3 separate regions of the Homo sapiens genome follow, and regions 2 and 3 are each linked to region 1. The links are contacts of gene promoters, found by promoter capture Hi-C in blood cells and fetal thymus (Javierre and others, 2016). All regions are on one chromosome and are shown on one strand. The core of a region is centred on a gene start or on the middle of the fragment in contact, and the rest is flanking DNA. Distances in the headings are between cores, read along the strand shown.

Region 1 (3,156 bases), core at 205-2,704:
CAAGCAATGGGTCAAAAAAGAAATCACAAGGGAAGTTAGAAAATATCTTGAGATAAAGGAAAATAAAAATACAATGTACCAAAATGTGTAAGATGCAGCAGAAGCAGTGCTAACAGAGAATTTTATAGCTATAAATATGTGCATTATAAAAGGAAGAAAGTGGCTAGGCATGGTGGGTCATGCCTGCAATCCCAGCACTTTGACAGGCTGAGGGAGGAGAACTTCTGGAGGCCAGGAATTTGAGACCAGCCTGGGCAACAAAGCAAGACCCCATCTCCACAACTTAAGAAAAAAAAAAAAAGAAGTAGAAGAAAGTTTGCAAATCAACAACCTAACTTTATACCTCAGGAAACTAGGAGAGAAAAAAAACTACACCCAAAGCTAGCAGAAGGAGGAAAATCCTAAAGATTAGATTAAATCAGAGATAAATGAAATATAGAATATAAAAACAATAGAAAAAAATCAACAAAACTAAGAGGTGGTTTTTGAAAACACCAACAAAATTAACAAATGCTTAGCTAGATTAACTAAGGAAAAAAGATTCAACTAATAAATCAGAAATAAAAAAGAGAACATTAGAACCCATGCCATAGAAATCAAAAGGATTATAAGAAAATACCATCAACAGTTAATTATATGTCAACAAATTGGATAATTTAGAAGTGCATAAATTTCTAGAAATATACAACCTAATAAGAGTGAATCATGAAGAAGTAGAAAAAACGAACAGACTTATAACTACGAAGGAGATTAAACTGGTTCAAAAACCTCCAAACAAACAACAGCCCAGAACCGGATGACTACCAAACATTTAAGGAAGAATTAGAACCAATGTTTCTCAAAGTCATTTACAAAAATGAATATAAAAAACACTTCAAAGCTCATTATATGAGGCCAGTATTACCCTGATTTCAAAGTCAAACAAAGACATTACATGAAAAGAAAACTACAGACCAATATTTGTGATGATCAGGTTGGCTTTATTCCTGGAATGCAAGAATGATAGAACATGTGGCAGGGTGTGCTGGCTCATGCCTGTAATCCCAGCACTTTGGGAGGCTGAGACAGGAGAATCCCTTGAACCCAGGAGGCAAATGTTGCAGTGAGCTGAGGTCATGCCACTGCACTCCAGCCAGAATGACAGAATGAGATTTCATCTCAAAAAAAAAGAATAATACAACATGCAAAAATCAATGTAATACACTATAGTAATAGAATAAAGGACAAAACAGCATGATCATTTATATTGATGTAGAAAAAATGTTTAACAAAATTTAACACCTTTTATCACGAAAACACTCAGCAAACTAGGAATAGAAGGAAAATAACATAATAAAGGCCATATATGAAAAATCCACAGGTAAACTTACACTCAATGGTAAAAGATTCAAACTTTTCTTCTGGATTAGGAACAAGACAAGTATACTCTGTCTCTTCGCTTCTATTCAATATAGTATTTGAATTTCCAAGCAGACCAATTAGGAAAAAAAAATTAAGCAAGAAAAGACATCCAAAGAATAAAAGAAAAAAGTAAAATTATCTCTGCTCACAGATGACTTGATCCTATATGCATAAAATCCTAGACTCCTGCATAAAATCTAGAAAACTGTTAGATGCATATATGCATAAAATCCAGAAAACTGTTGGAACTATTAAACAAATTCTGGAAAGTTGCAGGATCCAAAATCGACACACAAAAATCAGTTGCCTTTCTATAAATTAACTATAAACAATCCAAAGGTAATTAAGAAAATAATTTAATTACAATACCATCAAAAATAGTAAAATACTTAGGAATAAACTTAGCCAGGGAAATAAAAGGCTTGTACACTGAAAACTACAAAACAGTACTGAAAGAAGTCACAAATAAATGTAAAGACATTGGTATTCATGGATTGGAAGATTTAATGTTAAGATCTCCAAAATATCAGATGTATTCCCCAAATCTGTACAACATTATGTATTAATTTGAAAAGTCAATAGAACCCAAAGCAGTCTACAAATTATATGTAATCCCTATCAAAATCTAAGCTGCATTTTTTGAAAAAAGAGAAAAATTTATCTAAATATTCATATATACTCTGACTAGACAATCTTGAAAACTAACTGAGTTGAAGGTCTCATGCTCCGTGATCTCAAAACATGTTACAAGACTACAGTAATTAAAACAGCATGACACTGGCTTAAAGAGAGACATATAGACCAATGGAATAGAATAAAGAACCCATTAAAAGAAAACTCCACATATATGGTCAAATAATATTTACAGCATTCCAGATCCGCTCAATGAGGGAAGAACATTCTCTTCAACAAACAGTGTTGGGAAACTTGGATATCCACACATGAAAGAGTGAAGTTGAAACTTTGTCTTATGCCATATACAAGAATTAACTCAAAATGGATTTAAAACTTAAATGGAAGATCTAAAACTATAAAACTCTTAGAATAAGGGGATATGGCAATTATTTTTTAATATGACACCAAAAGTACAGACAACAAAAGAAAAAATAGACAATTGGGACTACATCAAACTTTTTAAAACTTTTATGCATTAAAGGACATAACAATGTTAAAAAAAACTTGTGGATGGAAGAAAATATTAGTAAATTATATATCTGATAAAGAGTTAATATCCAGAATATATAAATAATTTCTACAACACAATATTTAAAAATAATATGATTTTAAAATGGCAAAAGGATTTGAATAGACATTTCTTTTAAAATTATATATGAATGGGCAAAAAACATAAGAAAAAATGCTCAGCATCCAAACTGGAAAGGAAATCATTAGAGAAATGTAAATCAAAACCACAATGTAATATCTCCTCACAAAAATTGAGTGGTTTACTATTAAGAAAAAGAAATATTAGATAGGATGCAGTTGATAGCAAACAGCTTAAAAGCAACGTGACCCCAGATACTAACTCAAAGCCACACAAAAAACAAAAAGCTCTGGCAAAGACATTTATTTATATTTTTATTTATGTATTTATTGAGGGTTTTGCTGTTTTGTTGTTGTTGTTGTTTACTGTTTTATTTTTGCTTTTTCAACTTTTATTTTAGATTCAGAGGGCACTTGTGCAAGTTTGTAACCTGGGTATATTGTGTGATGTTGAGGTTTGGGGTATGAATGGTCCCATTACCCAGATACTGA
Region 2 (3,156 bases), core at 183-2,682, 130 kb after region 1:
CTGAAGTTGAGACACTGTTTGGGCTGCAAATGACAAAACCCAACTCAAACCAGCTGCAGCTGGACAAGACATGCCTTATCTCAAATACCTGGACACAATAGAGGGTCGGGGGCCTCAGCCAGAAATGGATCCAGGGACTCAAGCAATGCCCCAGGGTGCATGCACACTGGCTCCCTCTTTCTGTCTCTTTCACCTGTGTTGGCATCACACTCTCCTGCTGCAGACAGGCCCCCATGGGAGAGGGCACAGGAGCTCATCATAGTAGCTCCACCTCAGGTTCTCATGTGGCCATTATCTCCCAGCCGCATCTAAACAGAAAGTGCTGGGGGGCAGCTCTGGTTGGTCCTGCTTGGGCTGAATGCCCACCGTGGACCAATCTCTGGCACCCCAGCACCCAAGTCCTTCTTCAAAACCTCTGTGGCACCGACAGCCCAGCCCCCTGGGTGTATTTGCATGTGTGTGTGTGCACGTGGACACACATATGTGCCAGTGAGCTTGTGAGTGTGTCTGCATCACTCAGAAGCCGGGATCGGGATCAGGACCAGGATCCCTCCTTGTGGGTCTCTCCAGCCCTCACCTGAGCACACAACAGGCCCTCAACAGAGTTGCATGGGTCCTGGAAACTGAGGGTCACTGAGAGCAATGACTGAGGGTCGTGTGCTCAGCACTAGAGCAGACTTCACAGCCCAGGCCCGCTGGTGCTGGGGTCCCCCACACACCTGCCCACGCCTGCTGCCCTCCTGTGGCTGGGAGCGCACCCTTCCCTCTTGTACTCTGCAGCCCCACGGTTCAGTCCCTTGCATTGGATTGGGCGGGAGGCTCCTCCCTAGCACCTCTCCACCCGGCTGCCCTTGTCATTCTCTGCGTTAAACATCCCTCCCCCATCTCACAGGACAAGGGCTTGCACCTCTGCCTGCCTGGCCTCCTCGCCTCCCCTGGCACATTTCCTCAGGGATGGGTCTGGACAGCTGTGGGAGGAGCCACCCGCTCAGGGCACTCTACCTCCCACTCCAGGCCAACGCCACAGGGGGCGGTGGGCACGTGCAGATGGTGCAGAGGGCCATGAAGGACCTGACCTATGCCTCCCTGTGCTTTCCCGAGGCCATCAAGGCCCGGGGCATGGAGAGCAAAGAAGACATCCCCTACTACTTCTACCGGGACGACGGGCTCCTGGTGTGGGAAGCCATCAGGACGTGAGCGCCCGCGGGGCGGTGGTCCTGGGGGAGGAGCCGGGACCCCTGCCTGACTACCTGGGGCGGGCCTGGCCCCTCCACCGCTAGCGCTGAATGGGGACGGGGTGGGGGAGTCCCAGCGTCCGTGAGGGGGTTGCCGCCGGGCACCGCTCCGCAGACCTGGCTGGGTCGCCCACCCCGGCTGCGCCCCCTGAGCCAGGTTCACGGCCGAGGTGGTAGACATCTACTACGAGGGCGACCAGGTGGTGGAGGAGGACCCGGAGCTGCAGGACTTCGTGAACGATGTCTACGTGTACGGCATGCGGGGCCGCAAGTCCTCAGGTAGGGCCTCCGGGACGTCTCCGGACCCGGCTCCCCCGCAGTCGGCAGCGCTGGCCCCTCCGCCACCCCTCCGGGGTGTCCTGCCCAGGGTGCCCTCCGGCCTTGGGGCAGGGAATCCGGGCACGGGGTGGGCGCCGGGCCCTGGGGTCCTCAGGGACTGGGCCTCAGCCCGCCGGTGGTTCCACCCTAGGCTTCCCCAAGTCGGTCAAGAGCCGGGAGCAGCTGTCGGAGTACCTGACCGTGGTGATCTTCACCGCCTCCGCCCAGCACGCCGCGGTCAACTTCGGCCAGGTAGGCAGGGCCGGGCCCGCTGGGCAGGGCTCCCTTCTCAAGGCCGCTGCCTCCTCCCCCGCCCCGGTTCTGCACGCGTACTGCACCCTCGGACAGCCTCGGGGCCTGGCACGGGACTTGCAGGATGGATTCTGCCCGCTCAGCCAAGGGCGCTGGCCGCGGGGAAAGAGGATGGACGGACTGCAGGGCCCGCTGGAGTTGGGGGGCACGGGGAGGACGGGGCCCAGGGGGCAGCTGGGCAGCAGGGCTTCGGGGGTGCCCACGCTTGCTGGCGGTCGTCTCCGCAGTACGACTGGTGCTCCTGGATCCCCAATGCGCCCCCAACCATGCGAGCCCCGCCACCGACTGCCAAGGGCGTGGTGACCATTGAGCAGATCGTGGACACGCTGCCCGACCGCGGCCGCTCCTGCTGGCATCTGGGTGCAGTGTGGGCGCTGAGCCAGTTCCAGGAAAACGAGGTGAAGCTGGGCAGGGCGGGGCACAGCCCCAGGTCACCCCAGGTTAAGCGGTTCCTCAGCCTCAGGGCTTTGTGACTCGGGCCCCAAGGCTCACTTGGAGCAAAGGAATCCTGACTTCCAAGGCTGGAAGGGCCCAGAAGGCTGCAGCCGCCACCAGGTCCCCCGGCCTCAGCCTGGACAGAGCTCAGGGTGTGCAGGGCAGGAGAGCACACAGCCCAGGCTTTGCTCACTGTCACCAGAGGGTCGTGTGTGACGCCCCCTCCCCCCAGCTATTGACAAAGTTCTTGCACATGTGTTTTACCCTGGTACTCCAGAGGGAATGACCAAGAGTTTCCTGGGTTCCTTCCGGACACGTGCATCTCATTTAACCTAACAACTGAATCCGGTGTGTCTTCGTGGATGCACCCGCTTTGGGGTAGCTCAGTACTGCATAGAATGGCCGGACCAGTCCAACCTGCTCCAGACTGCTGGGTGTCTGAGTTGTTCCCGGCCAATGTGTTGGTCCCTCACTGGACATCCTTGTTTTTGTGGCTTTGCACATGTGTTCAGTATGACCGCACACATTCCTAGCAGACAAATTCCTTGGTCAAAGAATATTGATACTGAATTGCCCTCCACAAACTAAATTCAAAATCCCATTATCAATAGCCTATGTTTCTTGGACCTTTCCAGCTCAGAAGCTTTGTGATCTTAATCCAATACAGTATTTTTTTAAAATGATATCTAGCTCTGCCCCGCAGACATCTGTGTGAGAATGCAAATAAGCACAGGACCCCAACAGGGCAGCCACCCCTTCAGGCTCCCTGGCCCGCTTTCTGCCTTCCTGGGCTGGAGAGGCCAGTGCTGGCCCCAGCGCCCCTGATGGGAGGTGAGAGTGCTGCGCAGGGGTGGCC
Region 3 (3,156 bases), core at 190-2,689, 110 kb after region 1:
GCCCCAAAAGCCAGGCAACACGGTAGAGCAGCTGGATCTCTGTTCGTAGAAGCTTTCTCAGGGACTGGCCCACCGAGTGGGGGACTGCAAGTGCCCGATGAGTGAATGAATGAACACATGTGTGAATGGAATTCAAGGCACTGCAGGCTATTCTGGAGGGTACTGGCCTGTCTCTTCGACAGGTGAGGTGCAGTAGAACAGCATCCCGTATAGATGCCAGTTTCTGACCTGGTTCTGAAAAGCCAGTCACCTACCTCTGCAGAGCTGCCTGGAGGGGGCGGGGGTTGTGAGGACCCCTGAGAGCTTGGTGTGAAGGGGCTCTGCAGAGGGAGGCATGGCTAGTGTGCGCAAGGTGACCTCTCTCCTGGTCTGCAGGATGGAGAACCTGTTCATCAACCGCTTCATGCACATGTTCCAGTCTTCTTGGAATGACTTCGCCGACTTTGAGAAAATCTTTGTCAAGATCAGCAACACTATTTCTGGTGAGTGTGCCTCTGGGGGCCCAAGTGGTGCTGGGGACAGGGGATGCTGCTCTCCTGTCTGATACTTGCCGGGAAATTGACAAGGGCCTTCCTGCCTGCTGCAGCATGGGGGCCTCGCTGCCACCATGCCACCCTGGACAGCACCCCCTACACTCCACACCTTTTACCATCACTGTGGTCACCCTTGTGCCCAGAGGTTTCTCCTCCTCAGATATTCAAGCTCGAGCACCCTCAACCTCATTTCACTATCAAAAGTCTCAAAAGTATCAGAACTTTTTCTTGGCACAAATCAATCATTTGTGCTTCTGAACAGAGCAAAGGCAGAACTTGGCTTGTGTTTTAGGTATTTACACAAAAGCAACTTTGGGTTCCTTTGGACTAGGATGTGTTTGATGAGAGCACTAGCTTCATAGTGGCCAGTCATGGCATGGGAAGGACGTTAGGAAGGCAGGAATGGCTGGACAAGAAGAGGTGCTGAAATCAGGACATGGGGAACCAAACTTGGCAAACTGCCCCCAGGGACTCTCCTCCACGCCCTCCTTCTTCCATCCTGGACACTCCATGCTGGGCTGAAGGACCTGAGTGCTCCAGGAGGCTTCTGAGCCACGAAGGGCCAGCTCAGGTATGATGAGTTGGTGCCACAGCCTGACCCAGTGATGGGCAGGGGGCAGCAGTTGGAGCTGTGCCCATCCAGGGAGCACTCGGGAGAGGAGACCAAGCAGGGACTCTGCTCTTAGGTGAGGTCAGGAGGGCCATGGCCCTGGCTGCCCTCTACTCAGAGCTCAGGGTGGGCCTCGCTTTTCTCCTGGTAGAGCGGGTCATGAATCACTGGCAGGAAGACCTGATGTTTGGCTACCAGTTCCTGAATGGCTGCAACCCTGTGTTGATCCGGCGCTGCACAGAGCTGCCCGAGAAGCTCCCGGTGACCACGGAGATGGTAGAGTGCAGCCTGGAGCGGCAGCTCAGCTTGGAGCAGGAGGTCCAGGTAGGGGTTGATGGGCTGGGGAAGTGGCCAAGGTCACAGTCTGTCAGGTGGAAGCCAGTTCCTCCTGGCCAGTGCTCATAGGCCACCAAGACGCTAACTGCAGGCCCATCTGGCCTACAGCAGCCGCTTCCTTTTCCTGGCAGCAGTGTCAGCCAGGGTCCTGGGCATTATGCAGACTGTCTTGTGCAACATCAGAGGAGGAATTGCGGGGAATGTTTCTCCATGATGCTCGAGTCTGGGAACATAATGTCAATATTTTCACTATCAGTATCAATAATTACAGGAGCTACCCTTGATTAGGGGCCTGTGGTGGGACAGGCATTGTGACAGGTGCTTTACACACAAGGTCATCAGTTGTCACCCACCTTGCAAAGGGGAGAACACTGGAGAAAGAAGCAGACCTTGTGTGAGAATAAAAAAGGGGCACGAGGAGAAACCCAACAGAATGGTTGATTTTCTCGTTAGAAATGCTGCTGCCCATGCTCCTGTCGCACCCTCCTCCCCACCCTCACCTGCAGACTCAGCTGCCTCCGGCTGCAAGGCTGACCTAGTCTTGAGACAGAAGAAGTTCAAACCAACTCCACCTGGATCTGGTGGGGCTCAGCAACAGGCGCTGGCCCATCAGCCTGCCTCTTCCCCATGGATCCAGCGTGATGGGGCCTCCTGCCACCCAGGCCCTGCTGCCTATCCCCAGGTGTCCAGGTGGCCTCTGCTGCTTCCAGTCTTTTGAGCTCAGCTTACCCTGAGGCCCTAGTTGGAGAGGGATGGTTGGTGCCCTTTAGAGATAAACCTACAGCCCCAGTACCTGGCCCACCTGAATCTAGAGGGCCACCCACCCAGCTGAAGTCCCTGGGCAAGTCTCCTGCCCCAGTGCAGGCAGTGTTTCCTAACCTCCTCCTCCTCCTGCACCCAACCAGGCCCAGAACACTTCCTGGTCATGTGAACAGCTGACAGTTACAATCCCCCACACACTGAGAGAGCATCTGTGTTCCTGAGTGGACTGAATTGCTAGATGTAGTAACATTGATTTGGTGGCTATAGGTTTCAAACTTCAAGTCAGAGATCATAGAACTTTAAGCCATATAGAATCCTAGAATTGGAAGACTCTGAGCAGCCATCTCTGCACCCAGCAGCCAAGGAGTGGCCATCCTCAGCACCTGGCAGGGCATCAGCCTCCCACTGGGAGTCCCGGCCACCTCCAGGGCACGTGGGTTATGAGTCACCTTTCCTTTGAGCTGACCCACCCCTCACTGACTAGACTCTTAAACACACACTGCCCCGTCTAATACACACCAGCATGATTCTTAATCCCCACAGTCATTCACGCTGCCCATCTGGCAGCACCTTAATGATCTACAGCAAGCTTGTGGCCTACTAAAAACGCCTCCATTGTTTTTTAAAATGTGCAGTTATTTTCCGGATCATGAATAGAGAAATTGTATCCCTGTTGTTGGTATTGATTCAGTGTTCCAGCTCAAGTTTGAGTTCTTAGACTTTATATTTGGATTCTTTGGTTTCAAATCACAAAAATCAACTCCATCTGGTTTAATCCAAGAACTCTATTGGCTCAGGCAACAGTAAAAAGCAATGCTAACTCATTTGGGACCAGGGCTCAGATCATCCCCTGCACTGTCTCTCTCTCGCTCCATGTCTCAATCCTCTGCCTCTGGTGATTTTTTCCTTAGGAGG

What was found. Contacts are between HindIII fragments. The CHiCAGO score rates a contact against its expected background, and 5 or more counts as called.
Region 2: a fragment that was not itself captured here is called in contact with the fragment with the promoter of OR13A1 in region 1 in 8 of 17 cell types (M0 macrophages, monocytes, naive B cells and 5 more); the score reaches 7.8 in M0 macrophages.
Region 3: a fragment that was not itself captured here is called in contact with the fragment with the promoter of OR13A1 in region 1 in 6 of 17 cell types (M2 macrophages, monocytes, total B cells and 3 more); the score reaches 8.6 in M2 macrophages.

What each region holds. Positions count from the first base shown.
Region 1 is chr10:45,314,154-45,317,309 of GRCh38, forward strand. OR13A1 (olfactory receptor family 13 subfamily A member 1) reads right to left here and starts at 1,455. Exons shown (of 4, transcript NM_001004297.3): 1 at 1,371-1,455. The HindIII fragment of the contact is 10,818 bases long and covers 1-3,156 here.
Region 2 is chr10:45,442,024-45,445,179 of GRCh38, forward strand. It overlaps ALOX5 (arachidonate 5-lipoxygenase), which reads left to right. Exons shown (of 14, transcript NM_000698.5): 10 at 1,015-1,193; 11 at 1,393-1,514; 12 at 1,705-1,805; 13 at 2,093-2,263. It overlaps LOC102724323 (a long non-coding RNA gene), which reads right to left. Exons shown (of 3, transcript NR_120674.1): 3 at 2,545-2,829. Among named protein-coding and RNA genes, the nearest start is that of ALOX5, 69 kb to the left of the region's middle. RefSeq lists enhancers at 147-917, 918-1,686. The HindIII fragment of the contact is 3,018 bases long and covers 1-2,941 here.
Region 3 is chr10:45,423,666-45,426,821 of GRCh38, forward strand. It overlaps ALOX5 (arachidonate 5-lipoxygenase), which reads left to right. Exons shown (of 14, transcript NM_000698.5): 5 at 376-482; 6 at 1,295-1,467. Among named protein-coding and RNA genes, the nearest start is that of ALOX5, 51 kb to the left of the region's middle. RefSeq lists an enhancer at 2,202-2,702. The HindIII fragment of the contact is 2,778 bases long and covers 51-2,828 here.